3 separate regions of the Homo sapiens genome follow, and all the other regions are linked to region 3. Evidence: promoter capture Hi-C in 16 types of primary human blood cells and fetal thymus (Javierre and others, 2016). All regions are on one chromosome and are shown on one strand. Each heading gives the region's core, a stretch centred on a gene start or on the middle of the fragment in contact. The rest is flanking DNA. Distances are from core to core; before and after follow the strand shown. Region 1 holds the start of GNB1 (G protein subunit beta 1). Region 2 holds the start of PANK4 (pantothenate kinase 4 (inactive)). Region 3 holds the start of SMIM1 (small integral membrane protein 1 (Vel blood group)).

Evidence for each region. The method cuts DNA at HindIII sites, captures the fragments that hold promoters and counts their contacts. A CHiCAGO score of 5 or more calls a contact.
Region 1: the fragment with the promoter of GNB1 here is called in contact with the fragment with the promoter of SMIM1 in region 3 in 1 of 17 cell types (erythroblasts); the score reaches 5.0 in erythroblasts.
Region 2: a contact is called between the fragment with the promoter of PANK4 here and the fragment with the promoter of SMIM1 in region 3, in 4 of 17 cell types (naive B cells, endothelial precursors, erythroblasts and 1 more). The highest score is 6.5, in naive B cells.

Annotation. Positions count from the first base shown.
Region 1 is chr1:1,889,460-1,892,588 of GRCh38, reverse strand. GNB1 (G protein subunit beta 1) reads left to right here and starts at 1,502. Exons shown (of 12, transcript NM_002074.5): 1 at 1,502-1,769. GNB1-DT (GNB1 divergent transcript) reads right to left here and starts at 1,409. Exons shown (of 2, transcript NR_168264.1): 1 at 1,206-1,409; 2 at 1-689. RefSeq lists silencers at 718-967, 1,028-1,127, 1,248-1,437, 1,998-2,187. The HindIII fragment of the contact is 9,511 bases long and covers 1-3,075 here.
Region 2 is chr1:2,525,263-2,528,306 of GRCh38, reverse strand. It overlaps PANK4 (pantothenate kinase 4 (inactive)), which reads left to right and starts at 1,711. Exons shown (of 19, transcript NM_018216.4): 1 at 1,711-1,843. The coding sequence starts at 1,720. RefSeq lists enhancers at 1-242, 964-1,684. The HindIII fragment of the contact is 7,457 bases long and covers 1,314-3,044 here.
Region 3 is chr1:3,771,487-3,774,836 of GRCh38, reverse strand. It overlaps SMIM1 (small integral membrane protein 1 (Vel blood group)), which reads right to left and starts at 2,088. Exons shown (of 4, transcript NM_001288583.2): 1 at 2,049-2,088; 2 at 1,656-1,774. CCDC27 (coiled-coil domain containing 27) reads right to left here. Exons shown (of 12, transcript NM_152492.3): 12 at 3,192-3,350. The coding sequence ends at 3,314. RefSeq lists enhancers at 709-1,224, 1,225-1,740, 3,027-3,350 and a silencer at 1,802-2,681. The HindIII fragment of the contact is 1,777 bases long and covers 1,078-2,854 here.

The DNA of each region.
Region 1 (3,129 bases), core at 253-2,752, 1.9 Mb after region 3:
AATGAACCAGGCTGCAGCAGAAATAGCTGGGTTCAGGCTGGGGCAGGGAGAATACAACAGGGCCCTGGAGCATCTCGTGCCAGAAAGAAAGGGCTCCAGAAATGATGCGGACAGGTGAAGTGGGAGGGAGAGAGAAGGGTGGCAAGGCGTGGGTTCCCTGTCTGGTGGAGGCTCCCCTAGGTAGGGGGAAGCGCGTGGCACGGAGGGCAGGTGGCGGACGCATCTGGAAGCCGCACTTACTGTGTGTCCACTTTCTCACACAAGCACCATGCACACAAAACAAGAAGGAAAACGTCAGCTGAGAGAGGCGGGTGGTGTCCCAGGGTGTGGAGAGAGTAGAAGGTGGGAAATAGGTGTTGGAGGTGGCATGGCCCCTTGAGGTTGTGGCCCTGGTTGAGGGGAGGCCCAGTGGATGAGGTTGGGTCTCTCTCCCCTTCAGCTGTGCTGGTGCAGGCCTGGAGGAAAACGGACGCCAGGTTTGGTGTGGAAGGGGAGCTCGGAGGCGATGAAGGCCCAGGCAGGTGGAAGGTGGTGGTTGAGGACCGGGGAGCAGGGCGCTGGCTGGGGAGAGGCAGAGTGAAGAAGCCGAGGGTGAGGGGCAGCCGGAACTCAGCTGGAAAGACAGCAGGAGGCGGTGGGCGCAGGGGCGGGTTCCATGGACGTTCTGGAGGCTTCTGAGGACACCAAGCCTGGAAGCCAGGACATGTGGCCTTCTTGACTTCGTTCCCCTTCCTCACCTGGAGGTCTCCAGTCCCCGCTGTCCACTGCTCAGCGGCATGGGAGGAGTCCGCGGCCTTACCCCGACACTCCCGCCCACCGGCCCCCGCCCCTGCCAGGCGGCCCTGCTCGCAGCAGCGCGAGGAGCCACGGGGTGCTGCCCTCCTCCGCAGCCCGAGGCCCACTTCACACGCACTGAGCCCAAGCGCGAGTCTCTGCCCGTCAGCCGCGTCTGAGCTCGCCGCAGTCCCTGCTTGAGAGGCCGGGGGGCACCTGCGCCTGCCCGGGACCCTGACCTGCTAGCGGGGCCTGTTGCCTCCTCTGCAGGAAGCGATCTCGCCCGCGGTGCCCCCACCCGCCCCGTCCCCGGAGGGACCGCCCCCGCCCGCGGCCTTCCCGCCCCTGCCCTGTCGCTTGAGTGCCCCCCGCCCGCCGTTACCCCACCCCCGCCCCTGGAGGAGCCCCCGCCCACGGTTACCCAACCTTACCCTGTCCCCGGAGGGCTCCACGCCCGCGTTCCCCCCGCCCCATCCCAACTCCGAGGGTCCACTGCCCCGGTCCCCATCCCGCCCGGTCCCCGCAGGGCCGGGCCGCCGGGGGTCTCCCGGGGCAGCGGTACCCGAAGGCAGCAGCACGGCCCCTTTAAGCCGCTCGGACACGCGCTCGGGGCCCGATGCGGTTTGGACGCGCACAGGCGTGCGCGTGCCCGTCGGGCCTGGCGAGCGCGCGCGACGCGCGGCGTGCGTGGTGACGCGAGCGCGTGGGGTTTTCCGAGGCTGCGGGCAGGGGCCCGCCGCGCCCATCCCGATGGCTGGAGGCGTCTGAGGGGCGGACGGAGGCGGCGGCGGCGGCGGCGGGAGCGGGAGCGGGCGGCGAGTGGGGAGCGGGGCCGGGAGTGGAGCAGCCGCCGCGGCGGGACTGGACCGAGCCTCGCCGGCGCGCACCTGCCCGCAGCGCCCGCGGAGCGCGCAGCGCGGCCCGAGCGCGACGACCTGCCGAGCGGCGGCCGAGGCGGCGGTGTGGGCGCGTCAGGCCGCGACGAGGGCGCTGAGGTGAGCGCGGCAGCCCCCAGCCCCGGACCCGGGTCCTGTTCGTCCACCCGCCCGCCCTGGGGGCGCCCGCCCCGCCCCCACCCCACCCGCCGGTCGGGGCCGCGTCTTCCTGCCCCGCCCGGGTGCGGCGGGCGGCGTCCGAAGGGGGGGCCGGGGGCTGGGGTCCGAGGTTCGGGGTGCAGGGTCGGGGTCGAGGGCGGGGTCTAGGGAGAGGAGCCGGGGTCCCAGGCCCAAGGCTGGGGGCCGAGTTTCGGCACCGGGGTGCGGGGTTGTGTGCGCCGCGGGCGCTTCCCGTGGCGGCGGCCGGGGCCCCGGGGGCGCGGGTCGGGCGGGGCCGGGCCCTGCGTGGGGAGCCGGACGTGGCTCTCGGGCCCGCGGCGCGAGAACAAAGGCCGGGCGGGCCTGCAGGCGGGGCGGTGTCGGCGGCCGGAGCCCCCGCGCGGGCCGCCTATCGGGGTGACTTTGAGGGCCGGGCGGCCGCGGGGCGCGAGCGTGGGGAAGGGGAACAATGAAATGGGGAAGCCGGGCCGCGCGCCGCGGTCGGAGTAGGGATTTAAAGCGGAAGCCGGGCGCGGCGTCGGGAAATGGGAAAATAACGGTTTCGGCCCTTTTCGCTGTGTCGAGCCGCTGAGGCAGTCGCGCTGTGGCCTCGCCCTTCTCCTGCCGAGGCCCGGGTCTGTCCGGCGCTGGCGCCCCGCGCGTGTCGACTCGAGGGTTGCGCGGACCCCGGCCCGGCCCCGCGAATGAATGGGCCCGGTGGCCGCGCCAAGATGGCGCTCCCACCGCTGCCTTTGTGGGGCGGCCGCCGCCGCGCCGAGTTTCGGGGCCCGGTTTGCGATATTCCGAAGGCCCGAAGGTGGGGGAGAGGACAGGAAATAGCACAAAGGCTGGGTGTCTTCCTCTTGCCTGGATCGGCTTTTCGGCTGGAAGCGGGGTGGGGGTGGGGAGTGGGGAGATCTGTTGAAAATTCCACAGGGCTGTCGGCTGAGGCTTTTGACTTTTAAGAACCTGCTATATTTTTTCTTGTGAATCGATAGTTGATTCAAATGATATTTTAACATTTCTTGTGTCCGTTAAATTACATGGTTAGCATGCAGAAGCAGTATCAGCTTTTGTTTGCTTAATTCATCTTCATGGAAGCCTTTTTTTTTTTTTTTTTTAAGAGATGGGATCTCTTTGTAAAAGAGATCCTGTTAACCAGGCTGGTCTCGAACTCTGGGGCTCAAGCGATCCTCCCGCCTCAGCCTCCCAAAGTGCTGGGATTAGCGGCCTTAGCCACCGTGCCCAGCCTGTCTTCATGGAAGCTTTTTCTTAAGATTGTGAAATGGGCTCCTGAAGGAAAACGCCGATGTTAAAATTT
Region 2 (3,044 bases), core at 462-2,961, 1.2 Mb after region 3:
CTGCTGCACACTCCCACGGCCTGCAGCGCCAGTCCTGGCATGGGCTCCGGGGACACCTGCCCGCTGGCCACCGTGCCAAGGCAGGATCTGGCAGTCCTGGCAGGAGCCTGCACGGGGCCATCCCTTGCCTCAGAAAGGGCATGTATTTTTAGGCAGGCCACAGGGTGTTGGCTGAGTCTGCAAGAACTGAGGCCTGTGGCTCCCAGGGACCAGCTCCCAAGGGGCAAAATCCATCCAGCAAGGATTGGGCCGGAGTGGGCCGCATTCCCACCCCCGCTGAATGGTAGCCCCGTGTGTGGGCCTGCCCTGCCTGCTCCTTCCTGCTCAGCCCCTCTCGCTCCGCTCAGCCTTCAGCCCCTTTCTGGCTACTCCACAGGCAGTCTAGACAGGGTCCCCCCACCAGACCAACCCAGTGCCTGCCAGTGGTCCCTACCGAGCCCCGGGGTATGGTGGGCAGAGGACAGGGAAGGCCCCCATTCACCTGCATGTTTCCCGCATGTTCAGTGGGCACACAGGTGGGCGCCCCTCATGGAGGGCACCTCCTGCCAGCCTGGCCCATGGCACACCATGCTGCCAGGGGTCTGAGCTGCCAGAGGTCTAAGCCGCCTGGGGTGTGCTCCACTCTTCCACCCAGGCCTCCCTGGGGCAGGCTCCCCCTCCAGAGCCACACACCCACCCCCTTGGAAGACACAGGCAAGGATGCCTCCTCCCTGAAGGCTTGCCCTGCGCACACAGATGCATTATCCCTGGAGTTTGTGCCGCCCCACAGGCCTGTGCTCCCAGGAGCCCTGCCAGGCAGCTGGTGGCATTCTCCACGTGCAGACAGAGGCTGAGGGCCAGAGACATGCAGTAATGACCCCGGGTTACCCGGGAGGGGCTGATCTGTCTGCTTCCAACACTGGGCTTTTTCCCAAGGCGCCCAGAGCCTCTGGAGAAGACGCATCTCTTCATGCCAGCAGGGCTTCCCAGCCACTCACCCTGGAACCCTGGCCTGCCCCACCTATACCCCTGTCCTGGCTCCAGCTGCTTCCAAGGCTTGTTCCTGCAGCCTCCCAGGCACCTGTCTTGCCCACAGGCAGCCTGCCTGGCTTCCCCCGACCACAGCACTTTCCACGGATCGCCATTACAGCACACATCTTCCCTACCCGCAGGTGCATGCCAGGCTGGGGCTCCTCCCAGGTGGGGCAGGGTTCCCCACTCCTCTGGTTTGCATGGGACTTTTAACATTGAAAGTCCCACGCCCCTGGGAAGCCAGGATTGAGTCACCCTAGCAAAGAGCGCATCACATTCGCCCTGGCGTGCAGGGCCAAGCTTACAGCAGGCACTCGCTGAAGGGCAGGGCTCTCTGACAGTCTGCAGACCCACGTGCCCCCTTAGAAGCAGGTGGGCGGCCTCTGCGGCCTCCCTCAGCAGGGCTCAGAGCACTTGAGTTAAGCCTGTGGACAGCGCGGTAAAAGAACATCAGTCCAGATGTTCTGTGCTGATGCGCGATCTCTGGAGGATAACCGCCCGCCCGCCCGCAGCCCCGGGCCTCTCGGACCCCTGCCCAGCACTGGCCCTAGCTCGCCCTGTAGCGGCCGAGACCTCAGAGGCCGGGGGTGGGGGAGGGAAGGGGCGGGGCCGGCGCCTCATTAACATAATCTATGCGAGGGGGCGTTTGGCAGTCAAATATATGCGCATATATCTCCATGGCTGATGAGCTGGCCGGGCACTTTCAAAATGGCGGAGTGTGGAGCGAGCGGCAGCGGGAGCAGCGGGGACAGTCTGGACAAGAGCATCACGCTGCCCCCCGACGAGATCTTCCGCAACCTGGAGAACGCCAAGCGCTTCGCCATCGACATAGGTAGCCGCAGGCCGGGCGCCGGGCGCGGGCTGCGGGGGCGGGCGGGGCGCCGGCGGTGGGCCGGCGAGCGGGGGCGGCGGGAAGGACGAAGGGCGGGGGCGCGGGCCTCGCGCACAGCCTCACGGGCCTTGTAGTCCGCGGGCCCGCGCACAGCCTCACGGGCCTTGTAGTCCGCAGGGTCGCTGATGCGCGGGCTCGGGGCGACGGCCGGACTACAGCTACCGGCAGGCGCCGCAGGGACCAGAGCGGGGCCTGCCGGGCCTGGTAGTTCGCGCGGCCGTCCTGGGTGGCTGGGGGCCGGGGTCCAGCGTTACCCGCCGCGAGGTGGGAGGGTCGGCGGAATTTTATGTCTTCGGCCACATCGGCATCTGGGCGCCCCGGCTCCGCCGCTTGGCTGGTGGCTGGCCTGAGATTTGGGGTCCTTAGTTCTGGTCGAGACGAGGACGAGCTCGGCGGGAAGCCCTTGGCAGAGTGGCCCCGAAAAGGCCGCGCGTTCCCGCGGCGTGGCCAGCTGTGGCCCGCGGGCCGGACAGTCCGTGCACAGGCCCCGCTCTCTGGAGAGTGGACGCCGGGCGTGAGTTCAGGCGGCCGTGGACGTGGGACCTGGGAACTCGTGCCTCTGGTTTAAAAGCCACCCGTGCCTTCCGTGGCCTTTAAGGCGGCCTGCACTTCTGCCCTGGCCTCTCCAGGGTCCGCTGCAGACCCTCCTGCCTGATGGCTGTGCTCTCAGTAATGACGGCGGGCCAGGCTCTGTTCTAGACCTTTTTCCCACGCTCCTGACTCCCGGACACCTCCCAGCCACCTCTAGGGGAGGAACGCGAATTACTCCCTTTTCGCAGATGAGGATACCAAGCCCCAGAAAGGTGAACTAATTTGCCCAGGGTCATCGGGCTAGAAAGTGGCAGAACCAGGATTTGAACCAGCCACTCCCTGCTCTCCTACTCTGCCCATGTTTCAGGCATGAGGGCTTCCTGGGGGCAGCTTCACCTGGAGAAACCCCCCTTGAATAGCCGCTGCGGCTTCACATACCTCTCCCTCTTAGCACTCATCTCGGTCGTAGGCTGAGTCTGCTTGTGTGTGAATCCCACAAGAGCAGCGGTGTGTCTTGTAGCCCCAGCCCCCGAAAAGGATGCCCAACCTGTCTTTGCCGCCCAGTAAATACTGGGATGAATGGGCCTGCCGCTGACTGCTTCCCACCTCC
Region 3 (3,350 bases), core at 839-3,338:
GTACAGCTAGACCGGTCCCTGTCTGGGGAGGATGCGTGGCTGGCCCCAGGCAGTGGCAGCAGCTGTGTCCTCAGCCTGTGTGGGTTGCAGCCCCTCCCCCACCCACACCTCTAGGAGGGCTGGGGCTTGGGGGGCATGATGCACTGAGCACGGGGCCGGGGTGGATTCAAGGCCTTGGGGAGGCCCTACAGAGACAGGAGGGTCGTAGGGCTGGGTGGCTGCCCAGAGCAGGAGGGGCCCGGCCCCAAGGCCAGCTCCCTGCTGGGCTCCAACTCCTGCAGACCTGGGACTCATCTTTGCATCTCGGCACTCAGCTCGGTGCCTGGCAGCCCAAGTGCCCAGAGGGGCGAGGAGACCACGGGGACTGAGCAGGAACTCCAAGCACTAGCACAGCTGCCCGGCCGGCCTGAGCCAGCCCGGACTCTAAGCACCTCCTTTACCCTCTGGCCTCTGTTTCGACCTCCTATTTACCTAAGGGGGTGTGGGGGTGGAGGAGTTGGAGGGGGCACGAGAAGTTGACAACCCACCCAGGCTGTGGGACTGGGGTCAGCTCTCTGGTCTGCTGGGCCCCCAGTGTCCCCTCTCAGCATCTGGCCCCCAGGAGTGGGGTCCTCGGGCAGGCAATGGCAGGCCCCTCACTTCTAGGAGCTGAGGCTTTGCTGGGCCCCCTCCAGCGGGGAAGGCTGACCTTCCTCCCAGGTCATCGGCACAGAGGCCTAAAGGCACAGCAGCCACTCCCCTGCAAGAAGCCAGCTCAGAAACTCAGGCCCCAGGCAGTTCTGAGACTCCCGGCACTTCCATGTCTGCCTTCCCCCAAAGCCCAGAGAGGCAGAAGGAGCTGTCTCAAAGCCATAAAGTGTGCCTTCGGTGGGAGCCCTGGCTCAGTGCAGCCTGGCACTCAGGCCCGGAGAGGCCCAGCCTCTACTGGAGTATGGGTGCTGTTTTCCCGGAGCATGTGGAGCGGTCAGCTGCCTACCCGAGGTTCACGCCCTCTTGCCTGGTGTGCAGAATCCCATTCTGGTCCCAGCAGCAATGTGCCAGCCCCAGGTAACAGCCATGACCCGGGTAAGACAAGCTTAATACCACCACCCCTGCTTTCCCAAGTCACCCAGCTGGGGTCCAGGAGCCAGGGTGCAGCAGGGGATGGGAGAGTTTGCTTCTGTGAAAGCAGCAGCAGCCACCTCCTTCTTCCAGACTCGACGTGATGGCTGGAGCTGCTGGAGCTGCAGCAGCCGCCTTGCAACCCGACATCCACGCAGCATTAGTCTCGGGAGTGCTGAGGCTCCAAGTCCACAGCAGCAGCCCACCATGGGCCTCCCGGTGGGAGGGGTCAAGCCCAGTGTGTTCAACTCTGGGATCATGGGTTCCTGTCTTGCTGACGTAGAACACGTTGTTCCCAAGTCACCCCGGTGCACAGCCACCAGAGCCGGCCCTTGAGGCTGGCCTCCCTCACTTGCTCAGTAAACGTCTCTCCACACTCATGTGATGGTCACAGGTGTGGCGGCAGGAACCCATCAGGGACTCCCCTCCAGGCCCTGGGAGGCTCCCGGATCCTGGCACCTCCTGGGGGCTTGTGAGTGCAGGAAGGCCCTAGGTACACAGGCGCCCCTCCATAGACCTCTTCACCCCACAGCGCCTCAGGGCCCCACACTTACCCGGAGAACCTTGCCTGAGGGCTGGGGCCTCTGGGCCAGGTTGCGGTCAGGGCCTGGCCAGCGGCCCGCACCTCCCAGCGGGGCAGGTCGTGGGCTGAGGTGCGGCAGACGCCTCGAGCCTAAAAAAATAAAGGTGACCGGAGAAGCCGATCTTGCTAAGGGCCGGGAAGGGAAAGTGGCTGGTGTCGGGGGTCCCCAGCAGCCACAAGGAGCCGGGCAAGGAGCCGGGCGGGCAGTTCCGGCCCTGGCCCCGCACCGCGGGTTAGGCCGGTGGGGGTCAGTCCAGGGCACGCCCCCACCCCCGCCAGTTCTCAGCCAGCGAGGCCGCGCACAGTCGCACCTGCCCACTGCGGCCGCACCGGGAAGCCGCAGCCCGGACCCCGCGCGCCTCACCTGTGTCCCCGCGTCTCTGGGCTCCGCAGGGGCCGGGCCTGGGCAGGGGGCGAGGGCGGGGGCGGGGCCACGCGGGGAAGGGCTGGAGCCAGCAGCGGGGAGGTGTCTGGTCCGGAAGGTGGCGGGGCTAGAGTGGTGGGCGGGGCCATGCGGGGAAGGTCTGGGGCCAGTAGCGGGGAGGCGCCTGGTCCAGAAGGGGCCGGGGGCGGGGCGAGAGGGGGCGGGGCGAGAGGGGGGCGGGGCCATGCGGGGAAGGGCTAGGGCCGCAGCGGGGAGGCGCCTGGTCCAGAAGGGGCTGGGGGCGGGGCGAGTGGGGCCGGGAGACGCCTCGTCCGGAAGGGGCCGGGGCTCTAGGCCGCCCAGCCCCGGGGCCAGGAGGTGCAGGGGGGCCGGGCAGGGTCTGCAGAGGGCTGCACTTTCTGCCCCCAGACGGCTCGCCCTTGGGGCCTCCAGGGTCCCCGACCTCCTTCACCCCTGCTGGAGCCCCTCCGACGCCACGAGCCTCCCAGCCCCGCGGGGACCCGGCTGCAGCGCCGACGAGACTGCGGGAGGCTCTGGGCGCGTCTGGGCCTGAATGCTGGGTTCGGGGACCCGGCCGCGGGGACCGTCCTCCTCCGGGGCTTGAGGGGCGTGGCGCCCGCACGTGGCCCACGCTCGGTGCTCGCGGCGGGAAGGGAAGCAGGTGTGGGTGGGGAGCAGAGAAGGGTAATGGGGAGAGTCCCTTCCGAAGGTGTTCAGGCGCCCAGAGCCTCAGAGGCGCCGGGGAAGCGTCGGGGACCACAGACACCGTTCCCGTGCGTAAAGCTTTCCTTCCAGGAGCGGGGGGATGGGAACAGAGCCCCCCACCCTCACCATCTTCCAGAGGGGTCCTCCAGCAAGAGAGTGCCCCAGCCAGGAGAGCCCCCAGGGCAGAAGGTCACAGACCCCTTCTGCTCAGGCGTGAGGTCTGTGCTGAGTGCTGGGCGGACACCCCGGCTCAGGCCTCTGGCAGCCTGGTGCCGCAAGGGGACCTGTTAGGAGCTAGGGGCACAGGCTGGTGTGCTGACTCCCTGTGAGTGAGCTTTGGAATGGGGAGTGTCCTTGTAGCTCAAGGTCGCAGAGGAGAGTAGGCCCCCGCGTGGATCCCAGAGAAGAAAAAGGTGGGACAGTGCCAACACCGGGGTTTAATTCTGAGTCTGAGAGCAGGACGCATGGTGGGGGCGGGTGGTTCTGGAGCTGGGCCCCGGCCTCTGCTGGGCTGACCGTATTTGGGGGCCTGGCTGGGCCTACTTGGAGGTCCCCTTCTTGGATTTGCTGGTCAGG